Regions from separate parts of the Homo sapiens genome. Here regions 2, 3 and 4 are each linked to region 1. Evidence: promoter capture Hi-C in 16 types of primary human blood cells and fetal thymus (Javierre and others, 2016). All regions are on one chromosome and are shown on one strand. The core of a region is centred on a gene start or on the middle of the fragment in contact, and the rest is flanking DNA. Distances in the headings are between cores, read along the strand shown.

Evidence for each region. Contacts are between HindIII fragments. The CHiCAGO score rates a contact against its expected background, and 5 or more counts as called.
Region 2: a contact is called between the fragment with the promoter of SDHAF4 here and a fragment that was not itself captured in region 1, in 1 of 17 cell types (total CD8 T cells). The highest score is 5.7, in total CD8 T cells.
Region 3: a contact is called between the fragment with the promoter of BAG2 here and a fragment that was not itself captured in region 1, in 2 of 17 cell types (naive CD8 T cells and total CD8 T cells). The highest score is 7.0, in naive CD8 T cells.
Region 4: the fragment with the promoter of LMBRD1 here is called in contact with a fragment that was not itself captured in region 1 in 1 of 17 cell types (non-activated CD4 T cells); the score reaches 5.4 in non-activated CD4 T cells.

The regions. Positions count from the first base shown.
Region 1 is chr6:63,570,500-63,574,673 of GRCh38, forward strand. It overlaps PTP4A1 (protein tyrosine phosphatase 4A1), which reads left to right and starts at 1,981. Exons shown (of 6, transcript NM_003463.5): 1 at 1,981-2,220. LOC124901228 (translation initiation factor IF-2-like) reads right to left here and starts at 3,069. Exons shown (of 2, transcript XM_047419610.1): 1 at 3,033-3,069; 2 at 1-2,931. The coding sequence starts at 3,069. The coding sequence ends at 2,186. LOC128125822 reads left to right here and starts at 1,981. Exons shown (of 2, transcript NM_001415059.2): 1 at 1,981-2,220. The coding sequence starts at 2,182. It also overlaps a transcript of LGSN not described here. RefSeq lists enhancers at 967-1,704, 1,705-2,440, 1,765-2,059, 2,441-3,176, 3,113-3,482 and 1 more and silencers at 1,723-2,142, 2,443-2,572. The HindIII fragment of the contact is 3,322 bases long and covers 467-3,788 here.
Region 2 is chr6:70,564,529-70,568,702 of GRCh38, forward strand. It overlaps SDHAF4 (succinate dehydrogenase complex assembly factor 4), which reads left to right and starts at 2,402. Exons shown (of 3, transcript NM_145267.3): 1 at 2,402-2,476. The coding sequence starts at 2,413. RefSeq lists a silencer at 2,690-2,749. The HindIII fragment of the contact is 5,796 bases long and covers 1,703-4,174 here.
Region 3 is chr6:57,169,919-57,174,092 of GRCh38, forward strand. It overlaps BAG2 (BAG cochaperone 2), which reads left to right and starts at 2,408. Exons shown (of 3, transcript NM_004282.4): 1 at 2,408-2,892. The coding sequence starts at 2,780. It overlaps ZNF451-AS1 (ZNF451 regulatory antisense RNA 1), which reads right to left and starts at 2,295. Exons shown (of 4, transcript NR_110742.1): 1 at 2,156-2,295; 2 at 1,087-1,180. It overlaps ZNF451 (zinc finger protein 451), which reads left to right. Exons shown (of 15, transcript NM_001031623.3): 15 at 1-387. RefSeq lists silencers at 2,421-2,500, 2,551-2,820 and an enhancer at 2,555-3,312. The HindIII fragment of the contact is 6,211 bases long and covers 113-4,174 here.
Region 4 is chr6:69,794,786-69,798,959 of GRCh38, forward strand. It overlaps LMBRD1 (LMBR1 domain containing 1), which reads right to left and starts at 2,225. Exons shown (of 16, transcript NM_018368.4): 1 at 2,028-2,225. The coding sequence starts at 2,096. RefSeq lists enhancers at 1,176-1,732, 1,557-1,606, 1,733-2,288, 1,917-2,146. The HindIII fragment of the contact is 19,066 bases long and covers 1-4,174 here.

The sequences.
Region 1 (4,174 bases), core at 878-3,377:
GCTGACTGGATACTTCGTGTCAGCACTGCTTGTGGTAATTACAGGATCTGTGGATCACAAGGCTCACAACTTGTATCACAAGTTCTACAAGAAAATTGGCTAACACATATTTGGCTCTGTTAATCATTTGCTGAGTTTATATCTTGTCCCACCAAATGTATTTTTTGAAATGCCATTACATGAAAAAGTTTCACTATTCCAATTATCTGTGTTTACCAACTTGTGGAGTAAGAGTGGCTGACTGAATATGTGCTTTTTAACTACACTATTATATACATTGGCCAAGCTTTTTATATTAACCCTACCCATGAAGTATCACCAATATTTCCCCCAGTGTGAAATTGACATTTGTCAAAAGCCTTTTGCCATATAAAAGTTTTTAGTTCTTATATATGAAATCTGTCCCTTTTTTTCGACATGAGTTCCCCAGCCTGCTTAGCTTTGCCCCTACCACCCAAGATTTTTAAGCTTTCTATATTTTCTTAGAATTTAAGATTTTAAAGTCTTTACTTTTTTAAATCATTTATTTGTAAAGGGACATATTTCTCAAGTGTGCTAGTTTTCCTTGATTTTAATGGATTAAAATGTGTCGTAGGTGAGCCATTTTCTTCCAAATGACGAAGAGTTTTTGTTCCTTTGAAAGTCTGGCCCAGGATTTTGTTTGTTTTTGTTTTTTTAAAGTTCTTATTTTACTTACAGAGTTAAGAAAGTTGAATAACTATACAACCAGTCTCTAAATAGAAGTTCTAATAAATCCTAAGATGTTGCAGGGCACTGAAAGAGGACAAAATTTGATCCCTAAAGCCCTCTCCAATCTCATACTCGGTGAAAATAACAAACAAAAGGCTTCAGTGTTAGTGGAAAACTGAGTTCTTAAAAAGCAGGTAAAGGTCCTGTTTGGTCCTTCTCCAGAGCTGAGGAGAAAGGGTTTTCAGATTATAAATAACAGAGGTGCCCTTGTATGGCACAGAATTGCGATAAGACTTTACTTCTTAGGGGCTTAAATAATGAAGTCAGTAAAAGAGGACTGAAAACGAACATAAAGAAGAGCTTTAGCTTTGACGCAAAGAATTACATCAGTGCTTGACAAAACCGAGGATTCTTAATTTCTAAAAACGCTTTCTTTAAGCACTTCCTAACCTTTCATTATCTGAGACAACATATCAAGTGAGCAGCAGTACAAAGGATGCATGTGATTTCGAAATGCCACAATTGAGCCAACTGCAGTTGCACGCGTACGTAGTATAGAGAGGTGTGATCAAAAAAAGAATATAGGGAGCATAGGGCTTCGTCTGCATCAAAAGATACTCTCCCCATCTTCTATAGCCTTAAGTTTTGCGAAGGTAAGTTTCTCCCCGCTTGAAAGCGCCCCCAGGGACAAGAATTCATCTTGACCAAGCCTAAGGCCGTGGCATGCAAGGTGTTGAGTCACCGGGTACAGCGGTCTTGCGACATAAATATTATTTGATGACGAAGGTACTCGGGGCCCAGGTGCCAAGGTAAACCACTGGCAAAGATGACCGTGGTTAAGGCAGTAGAAAGCAGGCTCGACACTGAGACGCGGTTCCAGCCCTAGAAGGATTGCATTTTACGATTCAGGCAAACTTCGAGTCTCCTCATGTGACATGTGTGCACTCCTGGACCGTTTTAATTATGAGAAACGTGGTTTGCAGCATGATTCCTTCCAGTCGATAAATCGGAATCTCTCTCGCTCCCACCCCTTCTTAACTTCAGGCTTCCTGCATCCCGGAGCACTCCCGGCAGCCCCTTCCCTCCCCCGCCCCGGGGATGCTCCGACTCGGCGCTTAGCCATTCATCAACCGGTTCACACCGGCGGCGGCCGCCGCGGAGTGACGTCCGGAGGGGGCGGGCCTCCGCCCCCGCCTGTCGGCTCCTGGCCCGCGGTTCCAGGCCGCGATTGGTGGCTGGAGGGTTGCACGTCGCGCCGGCTATAAAGGGGAGGGCTTGTGACGCAAGGGCGCCTCGGCGCGTGTATTGGCTCCTTCGGCTGCGGGCCGGCTCGGCTACGCGCTCTGCTCCGAGCCGCTCACTGCATGGTAGAGTCTGGTGCCCCCGCCGCCGCCTGCATCGCCGCCACCGCCGCTCCGCCACGACCACCGCCGCCTCCTGCCCTGCAGCCACCGCCACCGCCTGTGTCGCCGCCGCCTCGGGACCGGCTGTATGATTAGGCCACAATCTTCAATGAGTAAACATATTCCTGTGAGTAGCCGTCGCATCGTCGCCTCTCGGGCTGGGAATCCACGACCGGCCCCCCATCCCCGCTGTCGCCTTTGTTCGGAGCCCGGCGTCTCCTCCAGGTTGCCCCGGGTTGCGGTTCCGGTGGGTCCCGGGTGGGAGCGGGCGGGTTATGGCCCTGTGGCCGGCCGATTGCGGCCGGCTGTGCGGAGGCAGATGCCGGGCCCCTCGGGGCTGCGGGGTGGCGGTTGGCCGCCGGAGGCACCGGCTTTTGAGTCCCTCCCGAGCCCGGAGCGACGGGGGCGGCGCGGTCCGGCTTCTGCGGCGGCCGGGGGCAGTTTCGGCTTCCGCAGCGGGCCGGGTGGGTGGCACAAAAGCCGCTTTGTGACCGCCGCCTCCGCCCTTGGCCCTTTGGTCTGGCGCGACCCGTCCGGGCATGGCAGGCTCCGCGGCGTCCCGGGGCCTCTTTGTTCGGCCGGAGGAGAGTGGCTGCACTGGGAGCGGGAGACGTGGCCCGGGGTGGGGCGAGGGCTGCGCGTGTCACTGCGGAGCCGGATACGGGGAGGGCGCGGCGGTGGCGGGTTCGCCTCCAGATCCGGGCGGGCGTGGGGTAGGCCGGACAGCCAGGCACGGGTGGTAACGATCTGGTTCCAGAGCTTCTCGGAGCTCCGGGGTGGGCGCGGGACAGCCACTGGGTGCAGCTACACTCTTGTGCTCGACGGCCGGGACCCGAGCCTCAGACAAAATGGCCTCGGCGCCCGCGCCTGACTGAAGGCGCGGCGCGAACCCGTGATTGCGGCGCGGAGAGGGGGCGCAGCGGGCGTGCTCGGGCGCACACAGCCGCGTGCGCGGGGCGGCGGCCCTCTGGGGCATTCCGCGAGCTGCACCCCTGCCCGGGCCAGAGTGGGGTTCTGCTAGGTGAGAACTTCGGCCGTCCGCCCCGCCCTCCTCCCAGGCTCCACCTGGTAATTCGAGCTGTTCCGGATTTATCGCCCCACCTCGGGCTCGTGATAATGGGAACAAGTCTAGTCTTGTCCTTTCTCTGGGCCAGTCGTCGAGAAATGGCCTGGTTCGGAGCGTCTTGGAAACTGACAGGGCTACTGTTAGTTACACTGACGCGAAGGACTTCCCGTCCGGGCACCAGCATACATTTCCCCTGCCAATTTTGGAAGGGCCCTGGATGGCGCCTTTTAATCGGGGACTGTTTAGAACTATCCCTGAGCTCTGTGGTGTAATATGTTGTTGCCTCCTGTTGGTTTGTGGCAGCAGTAGCCAACCAGAGACGGAATTCTGAGGGTTTTTTATCTTCTGTCCGCGGAGCCCCCTACCAGTCCACGAGTATTAAGTTATTTACACTACGATTGGAACTGTTGACCTGCCCGACATCTAGATCCTGAGGCAGTGCTTCCTGTTACTCAGTCAGTTGAAAACTAGAAAACTAAATCATTCCCAAGAGTGAGCAGCATTTTACACATGCTTTCTTAGGTGCCCTAAGACCTAAATAGATGTGGAACAGACTATACAACGAATTGTTTGTGACAAAGGAGTTACACACATTAATTGGCTTGACTCTGCAGTATAATAATGATTTAAGCTTCTGCACAGAGATTACTCTTTCCTCCTCTCCCTTCTTGTATATGATTGTGATTATAATGCAACTGATAGGTGGGAGGGAAAAAATCCCCATTATGGATAGTTTTTCCTGTGGGTAGGAGATTGGGAATGGAGGAGTGTCTTGGGCGGAACAGAAATCTATCGGTGGCCACCACTGCTTTAACAGACGAGTCCCCCCATCCACTAGGTGGCTCCACTCAGTAAAAATAACCATTTCAGGAAGGGAATTCTTAATATAGTTCTTTCTCTGCTTCCTGATGAAAGTGCTTACTTACATGAAGGGATATGGCCAGACTAGGTTGTAGCCGACAGGAGTTTTAGCTATTAAATATGGAAATAGTGGTGTGAAATACTGCCTCAAATT
Region 2 (4,174 bases), core at 1,152-3,651, 7.0 Mb after region 1:
ATGGCAGAAGAAAGACGGTGTTAAAAGTACATGTATGTCTCCATTCTTGCCACCGTGGCTACCTTGTTACTGAGTCCACACCTGTTGTGGGGGAAGGAGGCTGAGTAATTGATGTCCACAGAATGGGTCACTGTTGCAGCCCTTGTGTAATCCCCTTTTGAGAGTGGCCGGGACCTAATAATAGGATACAGTGGAAGTGGTGGGATGTCGCTACCGAAATGAGATTACAGAAGTTCAGGGCTTCCATTTTGAGTGGTCTTTCTTGCTCCTTAGTTCATTTGTCCTGTGGAAAGCCAGCTGCCATGTTGCAAGATAGCCTTTGGAGAAGCCCACTTAACAAATAACTGAGAAGGTTTCCAGTCCAAAGTCCACAAGGAACCAAATCTTGCCAATAATCATGTGAATGAGCTTGGAAGCAGATCTTCCCTTAGTTGTGCATTTATACGAGACTGGGACTTCAGCCAACAGCTTGGCTGCAACCTCATTTAGGACCCAGAACCACAGTCACTCTGGCTTCTAGGTTACTGATCCACAAAAACTGTGAGAGAATAACTGTTTATTGCTTTAAGCCAATAAATTTTGGGATAATTTGTGAGGCAGCAATAGATAACTAATAATCTTGTTCTGATTAAGAGCCCTTCTGCAATGGAAGCTCTTTTTTTTTTTTTTTTTTTTAACGTTCAATAGGACCCAAATGTTTTCATGCTTTGGGACCACTTTGAGAGGTCCTATTCCAAAGACCCAGTCCAAAACTTTTACATTCCCAGTTCCCAGCCACTTGACAAACCAGTCACTGCCTATGAAATGTCGATTTTTATCTCAAGCCATGTCTCTTTTTAGGCAAAGCATACAAGATAAGCTAAATTCTGGCCAGGCACAGTGGCTCACACCTGTAATCCCAGCACTTTGGGAAGCTGAGAGGGGTGGATCCCTTGAGGCCAGGAGTTTGAAACCAGCCTGGTCAACATGGCGAAACCCTGTCTCTACTAAAAATAGAAAAATCAGCCAGGTGTGGTGACATGTGCCTGTAAAAACATAAAATACATAAATAAGCTAAATTATGCATGCTGGAAATAATTTTTTTTCCCTGTTCTGTTCCTTCAGGGCCTCTGTTAAGTGGGGCTCTAAATATGAAAAGCAGTCAGTTGCCAGCTGGGCCAGTTTATTGAGCAAAGCCATCATCCGACTTTGAATTTTTTCCTCAGTCAGCTAGTCACAAGGAATTCATTATTAAACTGTAGATATAAGCTAAAGGTCAAAAGCATGATATTAGGACTGTGAGCTCCCTACAAATGAAAACTGTTTCCGTTTTGACTTTGGCCCAGTTCTGTGTATCCCACTTTCTCTCTTTTTTCTTTTTCTGTTTTTGAGATGGAGTTTTGCTCTGTCTCCAAGGCTGGCGTGCAGTGGCGTGATCTCTGCTCACTGCAATCTCCGCCTCCCGAGTTCAAGCGATTCTTCTACCTCAGCCTCCCAAGTAGCTGGGATTACAGGAATGTGCCACCTCGCCCGGCTAATTTTTGTATTTTTAGTAGAGTGTTGGCCAGGCTGGTCTCGAACTCCTGACCTCAGGTAATCTACCCGCCTCGGCCTCCCAAAGTGTTCGGATTACAGGAGTGAGCCACCTTGCCCGGCCCACTTTCTCTTCGTAAAAGGATCTCCTTATCTAGGAGAACCAGATAATTCTCAGTTCATGATAAGAAGCTTCGATCGTATAACCACTTGATGTCACATGGTCAGACACTACCAAGGCGCAATAGCTAGCCAGAAACTTTTCTTTAAAAGAAAAGACAAAATTCCAGAATTCTGGGGGCCTTCACTATGATTCTGTAAATATTTCCACGAGTTGCACAAAGCATCCAGGTCTGCCACATCCACTCAACGCTATCAGAGCTGGTGGGATGTAAGGGTTAAGGGGCAGAGCTCATTGCACTGGATCCTGGCCTGGATGGAGAGCCTTTTCTTGCTTTGCACCTCATTCAAAAATGTCGCCTTTCATATCATCTGGTTAGTCGGTCAGAATGGACGAACTAGGAGCTGACTGAACAAAGATTTAAAACACAAAACAGGGAGAATTAGGTAAAAGAAGCATTTTACATGAGTGAGAGAGTAAAAGGTGCTCAATCTTTGTAAACTATAAAAGGGATCTTCCACGGGCCATTTCGGCTCAGACTGACAAGCATGAACGGAACGGAATTATTCCCTCTTCTAACTGCAGCCACGATTTGGCGTTTTAACACCGGGCTCAAGGTAGCCTGGGTCTCTCTTGGCCAAAGAGCCCAGGGATGCCTCTAACTCCTTTTCTAAAGCCGGCCACGGAGGCCCCGCCCTCTGCAGGGAGGCTCCGGATCATGCCCCCTGCTCCTCCCACTACTGCTTTGCGCCTGCGCGGAGGCTCGGGGAGTCGGCGCCATGACCCCATCGAGGCTTCCCTGGTTGCTTAGCTGGGTCTCGGCCACGGCGTGGAGAGCGGCAAGTAAGCACCTGGCCTCGGGGCCACGGTCGCGGGAGGGGTCGTGAAGGCCCAGGCGCAGAGAGAAGCGCCTCCCGCGGAGGAAGCCGCGTGTGTCCTGGCCGTTCGGTGTTGCCAGGGGCTGCCCAGCTTCTCCCGCCCAGCCGCCCACCCGGTGGCCTGGGCAGGTTCCTGCAGCGCCCCGGGTCTCGGGTGGGACTAGAGCGAGAAAATCGCTAAGGCCCTTTCAGCCCCCGGGACGTCCGCTTCCTACCGAGCACGCGGTGGCCCAACAGGACCACAAACGTTCCGGGTTGTTCCTGTGGGAGCTCGCAGGGCACACCGCACTTCGATGCCCCAGAGAAAAATGGAAAAGAAGGCCCTTTGGGAATGGGAGTCATTGATTTACTTATTTATTTACATCATTATTTACAGGAATCCGCGCTCCTGGTCCAGGCTCCAGCAGAAAAGGATTTGTGGCAGTTTACAGTTTATCTTTTAAAAATGGGAAAAGTGCAGAAGTGAGCCAAAGGCAAATAAGTATAACGTAAATTAGATGAAGCCAGGAATTGTCAGTACAGAAAAAGCATTCATGCTTTCAGTAAAACCAACATTTTTAAACCCATTGTTGTTGGAAATTTTTCTCAAGATAATACAGTTAGCAGCCCAGACTATGCAAAACATAATTTTATTTATTTATTTATTTATTTGTTTATTTATTTTGAGATGGAGTCTCGCTCTGTCCCTCAGGCTGGAGTGCAGTGGCGCAATCTCGGCTCACTGCAAGCTCTGCCTCCCAGGTTCACGCCATTCTCCTGCCTCAGCCTCCTGAGTAGCTGGGACTACAGGCGCCCGCCACCGTGCCTGACTAATTTTTTGTATTTTTAGTAGAGACGGGGTTTCACCGTGTTAGCCAGGATGGTCTCGATCTCCTGACCTTGTGATCCGCTCGCCTCGGCCTCCCAAAGTGCTGGGATTACAGGCGTGAGCCACCGCGCCCGGTCCGCAAAACATAATTTTAATATATGACACCTGGAGAAGTTATGTAAGTTGAAAACAGTAATTATTGCCCTCAAATGGTGCCAGATTTCTATGCAATTTGTTTTCCTTTGTGCAATCATTTTACCCAAATACAAACATTTTACTTAATTGTATAAGTTTTAAATAGTCCAGAAATGAATAATACAGAAAGTGAAAGTCCTACATTATCCAAACCTCAAGGTAATAACGTTAAAATTTTGTAGGGTTCATTCAACATCCCCCTTTAACTAGTTTTAAACAATTATGAATTATTCCATATATATATATGTATACACACACACACACGTAGCACACATGTAAGCTATGTAGCAGTCATGTAAGCTATGAAGCACAACCAGCATCTATGAACTTATACTCCAATTTAAGAAATAGTCTCTATTGCCAAGGAGGTCTCTATTTGCTGCTTCCTGATACAACTGTGCAATGGTGTTTTTAATCTTTATAGAAATGTTTTCATATTGTTGATTTTTTTTCAGATAACGCTGTGTTTTGTGATTGAGTCACATTGACGCATGAGGTTGTAGTTATTCATTCAACTGTGTGAACATATGATGCATTTTCCAGTGCCCTTCTCAAAGGACATTTGGGTAATTCCAGAAACACTAGGATTGGGTGCTACACATTCTTGTGTACCTTATTTGTGCATTAGTGGAAGGAGTAGAATTCCTGGAGTATGTTATA
Region 3 (4,174 bases), core at 1,158-3,657, 6.4 Mb before region 1:
ATTCCAGAAAGAAGAGTAGTTAAGCAGATGTGGGGGCAGGGCAAGAGGAGACAGCACCTTGTTGCCAGAGATTCTACACAAAGGTGTGATGGACACTGATGCTCTATTAAGAAGCTTTTGTGGTGTGTGTGGTAGAGAATAATTAAGGCTTCTGATAAGACAGGAAAGGGATATTTCATCATGACTGTTAAGAAAAGGTAACTGGGTTGTTTAATGTTTTAATTGATAATTGTCACTGATCGTATTTCTACTTGTTAAATAATTAAAAATCATCTTAAAATTCATACTTTGACTTTAATTTAGACACAAGGAGATGTAATCGCTGTGTAACATCAGAGAAAGCTATATGGATTATCGTCAGAAGTAAATGTTTCTAACATTGACAAAGATGCTTATCTTTTCATTACATCATTCACTCATTAATTCATTCAATCACAAAATATTGAGTACCCACCATGTGCCAGCAACTGTTCTAAGCACTTGGAATATACCAGTAAGCAAAACAAAGCCCTTACCCCTCTGTGGAGCACATATTGGTGGAGAGGAGGGGATTGTACAATGTTAGTAAGCAAGGCAATAAAACTGCATATCTGATGGTGATACGTGTAACGACGGAAAATAAAGAAGGGAAGGGAATAAATAGTGCAGGGACAGGGAGTTGGGGGGAGGCTTGCTATTTTTAATAGGGTTGTCAGAAAAGATCTCACTGATAGGTAAACTTGAGCAAAGACCTGAAGAAGGTGAGGGAATGAGGATGAAAATACATATCGGGAAGAGAGTTCCAGGTGGAGGAGGTTAAGGTCCAGACAGGAGCTTAGTATATTCAAGGAAAAGCAAGAAGACTAGTATGGCTGACAGGATGAGCTAGGAGAGTAATAGGAAATGAACTTACTGAGGTTTTTCTAATGACCTGGGCTTTTACTTTGAGGTAAGGAGCCAGTGAAGGTTTCTGAGAATAAATGGTATGATCTGCCTTATTTAGGATTGCTGTAGTTGCTGCACTGAGATAACATGTACATGAGAGGCAAGAGTAGAAGCAGGGAGACCAGAGAGGAAGGTATTGTAGTATTCCAGGTGCAAACTCACCAGGTAGCTTGAACCAGAATGGTGGCGGTAGAATTGGGAAGAATCTGGATATATTCTGAAGGCAAAATTGATGGGGTTTACTAATGGTGTGGATCTAGGATAAGAGAGAAAAAGAGTTCAGGATGATTCTAAAGTCACTTGATAGACTTTCAAACCACTCACAAAATGTGTTTTGTTTTCGTTTGTGTCATGATAAAGTTATTTTTAATAAGGTCAAATAATCCCCTACCCCAAGAGTTAATTAGGATTTAAAATGAGTTCAGAGGGAATTGGGATCCAGCCTTAAGGGCTTCAACTCTGTTCAAGTATTTAAATGGCTTTGATCTCTGATTAAAGGTGGTGGCTCAGCTTTAAACTATTATTATCTATCATTTTCTGTGCCCTGTACATTGTCATCCTTGCAATGAGAGGCATAGAGCTATCAGGAGAGGGGACTAAAGCCTAACTTTTTAAGTAGACTAATCTTTGTATCCTCAGCTCTATTCCGTCTTTTACCGACAGCTGGTGCCTGACCTAGAGGCCTACTGCATCTTTTTTGTTAACAGGATTTTTAAAAGTTGAGGACTTTTTAATGCCAATTATTTCACTCAGAATATTTATTTATTTATTTATTTTTTTGAGACAAGGTCTCGCTCTATCGCCCAGGCTGGAGTGCAGTGGCGAGATCTCGGCTCGCTCAACAGGAATAATTTTAATAGCAAAAATTTAAAACCCCTTCATTAAGCCAGGCGTGGTGGTTCACATCTGTAATCCCAGCACTTTGGGAGGCTGAGGTGGGAGGACCGCTTGAACCCGGGAGGTCGAGGCTGCAGTAAGTCGTGATCGCGCCACTACACTCCAACGTGGGCGACAGTTAGACCCCATCTCAAAAACAAAAGAAAATTAGAATGGTAAAAATGAAGTAAATTCACTTTGCTTCCCACATCTAGCTAGACAGGGAAAGATGGAGTAGCTTTTTCTTTTTTACTTCATAGCTTCAGTGTTGTCCGGGCTTTCATTACTCTCATCTCAGTATAAAGTGGTAACAGGAAGGTCAGGTGAGTGTGGGCTGCCTACGAGCTGTACTTACTGCCTTCTGTTTCACAAAAGGACGTTTTCTCCCCATAATGTCGTTGTTCTTGCTTTGAATTATGGGTGCTGGGAGAAACTAAACGAAGCCGTCACTGAGCAATACACCCACAGCCCGTCGACCGATAGGAACCTTCGCGTGGGGGGAGTTGGTTACTTTTAGGTTGCATGAAGAGGCGGGGCCTCGCGGGGCGGAGCTGGGGGTGGTCTGTGGGTCCGCGCGGGCTTCGGGTAGTTCCTGGGTCCGGGGAGCAGACGATCCGCTAGCCACATTAGGCGCTCGGTCTCTGCGTCCGCCCCTCCCGTGCCTCAGAGACTTGCGCTCCCCAGGCCCGAGCCCCTGTCGGCCCATCCTCGAGCCCGTGTGGCTCGCGAACCTCTAACTCCAGCCGCTGCAGCCCCCTCCCAGGCCCGGCGTCCCCGAGCCCCGCGGGCGCCGCGCCTGCCCTTCTTTGGCTACGCTGCAGCCGCGGTGTCGGCGAGTCCTCCCGGGTTGCCCCCGCGGGCGTCAGAGGGAGGGCGGGCGCCCGCGTGGTGACGGCGACGCCTGCAGCCCAAGGAGCGCTCCACTCGCTGCCGCCGGAGGGGCCGGTGACCTCTTGGCTACCCCGCGTCGGAGGCTTAGATGGCTCAGGCGAAGATCAACGCTAAAGCCAACGAGGGGCGCTTCTGCCGCTCCTCCTCCATGGCTGACCGCTCCAGCCGCCTGCTGGAGAGCCTGGACCAGCTGGAGCTCAGGTGAGCTCCGGGCGGGCGGTCTCGGGCGTTCTGCTCGCCGCGCGGGCGGTTCGCGGGCGGTTAGCGGACGGAGGCCGCGTGTGGCGGGCCGGGGCCTGGGGCACAGTGAGGCTGCGGCAACCGAAGTTGCTTGTTGAGATTTGTTGTGGATGGACGTGGTGTAGTTTTGTTTGTTTCTTGGATTATCTCCCCTAGTCCGAGAGAAAACGCATTCGATTTAAGCTAAACCTGTGAGGGCGTTATCGGTGGCCACACTTTGATTAATTTACCTAGGTGTTAGGGAGCGGAAAAAAATCAGAGGAGATAAAAGTTACAGTGAGATTCCATGCGATTAAGGACTGTGGCAGCTTGGGTCTGCAGAACTTCTAGAACCTTCTGTGTGGCCCCAAACGTTTTAACTTACTCTTCTCGTTATGCATTTTTTAAGGGAGGCAGCAGTTTACAGTGGCCCTCCACGTGAAGTTAAGTTTCCTTGCTTCAGAACAAAAATGAATAAAACAAAACCAACCCAGCAATCCATTGAGAGCAAAGATTAGACAGGAGTGAGGGGTAGGCAGTAAGTTACCGGGTGCTTCGTGCAGCAGAGACGTTGCCGCTTCTGTTTCTCCCCTAACCTCGCGGACGGGATTCAGCGGTTCCGTTCGTCTCTCGGTATTTATTGGGCACCTCCCTACATAGAAGACTAAGTGCTAGTTACTGGCCTGAAAGCATGAAAAGATAGTTTTCCCCTTTTCTTGCTTAAGAATTTATTTGGTAATACAGTAGTAGACTTGTATAGAATTTCTAAACAATTTAATGTTAATAGATTTTTGGAAAGACTTTAACGGTGTATTGAAAAGTTTTATCTACTTCCTGTGAACGTTTGTCTCAAGTTACTGTGTAAATTTTGTGAGCAGGTGTAGTTAAAAGAAAATCTTGTTAGGCACCTGCAATTCCGTGAAACTGTACACAGGAGTTGGTTACATAGTTTTGTCTAGGTTGTGCATGAGCAAAGAAGCATGTGAGCCAAAAAGTTTAGGAAACACTGCATGTGTGTCTTTATCTTCCTACATTAATACACCCAAACATGAAGTATCTGTTTGCTGAGAAAATACTTCAATAACCACGGTATCTCTTAACAAGTGAGGCATTATTATTGTTACTATTGGGAGAAAAGAGCCAGAGAGTGAGAGATTCTCCACTCAAAATAATTTCTTGGATTATTAAGCCCTACACCAGGTTCTGGGGTTCCACTCAGAATGAGGCAAGTGGAAGAGAGAAGTAATGCTTCCTCATGGATTTT
Region 4 (4,174 bases), core at 975-3,474, 6.2 Mb after region 1:
TCCATATTTAAAAGATGTGCATAACTCAGTAAACCAACATTTTCTAAGTGGCCATGGCATCATGTTATAAAACCATGCATGGGTAAAAGAGCCTTTCAAAGTGCAAGATGGGCTAATGGATTTTAATGTAACAATGAATGAAATGCTCATTGATAGGGTTTCAGATTCCACCTTGCAGCTGACATGAATCTTCCACTTGTTGAGCTTTGGTGTAGTGTCAAAAAACATCCACAATTATCTGAAAAACGCTCCTCTGTTTCTGACTACCTATCATTGCAGCTGTATTTTCTCCATACACTTCGACTAAAATAACATACCCCAAAAGACTGAATGTAGAAGGCAACAAAAGAAACCAGCCTTTCTTCTAATAAACCAGGATTTAAAGAGATTTGCAGAAATTTAAACAAAAGTCCTTCTTCCTAATGCTTTTATCCACGACAACATTCAATTCTGATTTTATTTGTCCTTGCTGTAATATTGCCAACTTAAATGGCCTCTCTTCTTCATCTATCCAAACTCTACCACAATTCTCATTTTCTTCCAATATTGTTGTCTATTCTCTTAAGTCCTGCTTTATTTATAGTCACACTTTGGCTTTCGGTCCATAAAATACATGTTTCAAGAATTTCAGTTTTCTCACTTATCTTCAGGCCCTCTTTAAAGCCGTATTTTGTTTGGTTTACATCCTCTTACAATTCACACCACTTCTGTACCGTAAATGTTTATTAATTTATAACTGCCAAGATAGTCTCACGTAACTTTCATACATTACATGCTTATTTATTTTTTTCTAAACAAACTAAATCTGATGGACTGGAAAAGCCAGGGGGCTCTCCAAATACAGGACTGGGTGGCTGCAGAGACCACAGTCAACCTTTAGGGTTTCATTTCCTCCAAGAGAGGACTAACATGTTCCAGGGTAAAGGCAGTGTTTTTATCTGTGACAGTGATGGCAGTAACAAGAGGATCCTTTTCTTAAATTTTCACACCATTCTTTTCTTTTATTTTCTTTTTTTAGTCTCTACTGCAAAAATCTACTAGAACATACTACATAGGTACCAGACACCAACTGGATCTGACAATTAAAGTAAAACCAAACAAGCCTGATTTCCAGAACTGGAGGTTTTTGTTTTGCAATGCAAAAAGGTCAAAATACGTGAGAACAGAAAGTAACTACAGCCTCGGACGATGAGAAAAGAGAAGATTTGAGAAGGTAGAGAAGTTATGAAAGGAAATAAATTGAACTCCCAAATAAACCAAAGGGTTTTAATATGAACAGGGAAGTAATAGCCAGGCCACTCTGAGACATTTCTATCTACACTTTGCTCACTGAATATGCAGAAATAAGATCGTTGGAAAAGAAAGCACCTGAGGTCAGACAGGTAGTAGTATATACTCCGATACTGGTAATAAAGAGGGCTACAGCTCCGCCCTCCACAGGTATCTACACCAATCAAAAAAAGATTAGAAGAGAATGTGACACCTGGAAGTCAGAACGAGCAACTCACGTCATCAAGGCAGAATCACACAATGGGCACAGAGGTTGGAGACTCACTAGCCCCAAGGGTAGGGAAAATGAGGGAAAAAACATACAGAGAAGGTGACAAGTAAACAACGCCAGCGCCTACTTAACTTGCAAAGATCCAGCGCTGCCGCCCCACACCGTGTGACAATGTTTTACAGGGGACGAAAGGCCACCACATACTTCTCAACCCCGAGGGTCTCTTCCGCCCCCAAACCCCACCGGCCCCATTGCCCAAGTCAGCGATGACGGCAAGAGCTTCCAAAAAGGACCCTGCAACCCTAGACGTCATCGGTGAAATGACAGCAAAAGAGACCGGAAATCGACACCCCCCTGCCCCCGCCGCCCGCCCAAGCCCCCAACACTAAGGAGCCCTCCACAGTCCAAGCTAAAAGCGGGGCGGGGCGAAGAGGGTCTCCGGGGCCCGGAGAGGCCAACTGCAGGGCCTGCCCCTCCCTTCCTCCCCCAGTCCAAACATGGGGAAAACTCCAAGCGCCTCCCCTACCAGTAGTAAGAGGCCGAATATGCACCAGCCGATCACCAGCTCCGCCGAGGCCGCGCCAGAAGTCGCCATCTTCGCTTCCGGTCCAGACCAACCTGAGCGCCCGGGGTGGGGAAAGGGGAGGGGGAAAGGGGAGAGAGCGCGAGATATACTGCACCCGCGCACCCTAAAGGTTAAAGGGGCGGAGGGGGAGGAGCAAGTGGTTGCCAAGGAGACTGGACCCACTAGCGTCCCCTGGCGGCGAGCCGAGCGGGGGCGGGGCAGCAAGGACTGCTCAGGGGCGGGGCGCGTGCGGACGCAGTGACATCACCACGCTGCCCTCGCTGGCTTCCCTGCAAGCTGAGATGTGGGAGGGCTGCAGAGCAGGGTGTTGGCTCATAGCTGGGCAACCTATTGAGATATTTGACTCAGCCTAAGTTGATAGACTAGAACAGCAAGGGAACTCCACAAAGAATGGGCTAGGTGGACCTGGAGATCCAAGTCAATTTTAGAGGTTTATACTTCTTCACCAAAAGGAAGTTTGGCCCTCGTGTACAAGGTGGAATGTGTGTGATTAGCAGAACTCCTTACCAGGTTGCAAGAATGGCTGATGTCAGGCCTCTGAGCCCAAGCTAAGCCATCATATCCCCAGTGACCTTCACGTATACATCCAGCTGGCCTGAAGCAACTGAAGATCCACAGAAGTGAAAATAGCTTAGCTGATGACATTCCACCATTGTGATTTGTTTCTGCCCCACCCTAACTGATCAATGTTCTTTATAATCTCCCCCACCCTTAAGAAGTTTCTTTGTAATTCTCCCCACCCTTGAGAATGTACTTTGTGAGATCTACCCCCTACCCCCAAAACATTGCTCTTCACTCCACCTCCTATCCGAAAAACTGTAAGAACCAATGATAATCCCACCACCCTTTGCCGACTCTCTTTTCGGACTCAGCCCGCCTGCACCCATGTGAAATAAACAGCCATGTTGCTCACACAAAGCCTGTTTGGTGGTCTCTTCACACGGACGCATGAGACAGCTGACTCTGAATAAAAGTTGACTAGCTGCCCAAATCACTCTAATTTACTGGCACTGGTGCCCAGCCGGGATAACTGGTTGGCTGGACATGAACTTATCACATGATGTTATAGCCTTTCTATTCAGATGTATGCATGCCTGTGAATTTCCATGATAGCTTTGTATGTAAAGGTATATGCATCAGCAAACAAAACACACTGCCATAGGCCCACAATGAAGAAGAAGGAGGAAACTCTTGGGATGGCTTACCTGAGTCCACAGGGAGGAAACTCTTGGGATGGCTTACCTGAGTCCACAGGGGTGTGAGTGCATGTTTCACCACTGTGATGTAGTCAAGAAACAACTCTGAGAAAAAATACCATCATCTTTTTCCAATGTATTATGTGGTGATGAGTTATGCTCTACCTATAATCTACTTCCGGCTGGAAGCCTGAGGGAAAAAATAGGATGGTCCTTCCTGCCTGGACAGAATAAGAAGGGAATAGGGGAGAATACAGTTTTAACTTGAACTGGTACCATCATAAGCTGGCTTTAAGCCCTCTAGACCTGCAAATGTTTGAATTTCACTCTTTCTTCCTAATAATTCATATCCCTGGAGACCTCTGTCATAGCTTCCTTAAAGTGAAGAGAGGTATCGCTTCCAGGTTGATATCTCTATTCCAGATTGTATAGAGCACCCTTGACATAAGTAACTACTTCTTAGAAAAAGATTCTGTTTACATTTCAAAAGGAATCATGCCAAAAGGGACCAGATGTTCACCTAATCAATAGAGACTGCACCCAACCAGATAACGACATAACCAGGCACACTCTTTTATTATTATTATTATTATTATTATTATTATTATTATACTTTAAGTTCTAGGGTACATGTGCACAACGTGCAGATTTGTTACATATGCATACATGTGCCATGTTGAGGTGCTGCACCCATTAACTAGTCTTACATCAGGTATATCTCCTAATGCTATCCCTCCCCACTTTCCCCCACCCTACAACAGGGCCCAGTGTGTGATGTTCCCCTTCCTGTGTCCAAGTGTTCTCATTGTTCAATTCCCACCTATGAGTGAGAACATGTGGTGTTTGGTTTTCTGTCCTTGCAATAGTTTGCTGAGAATGATGTTTTCCAGC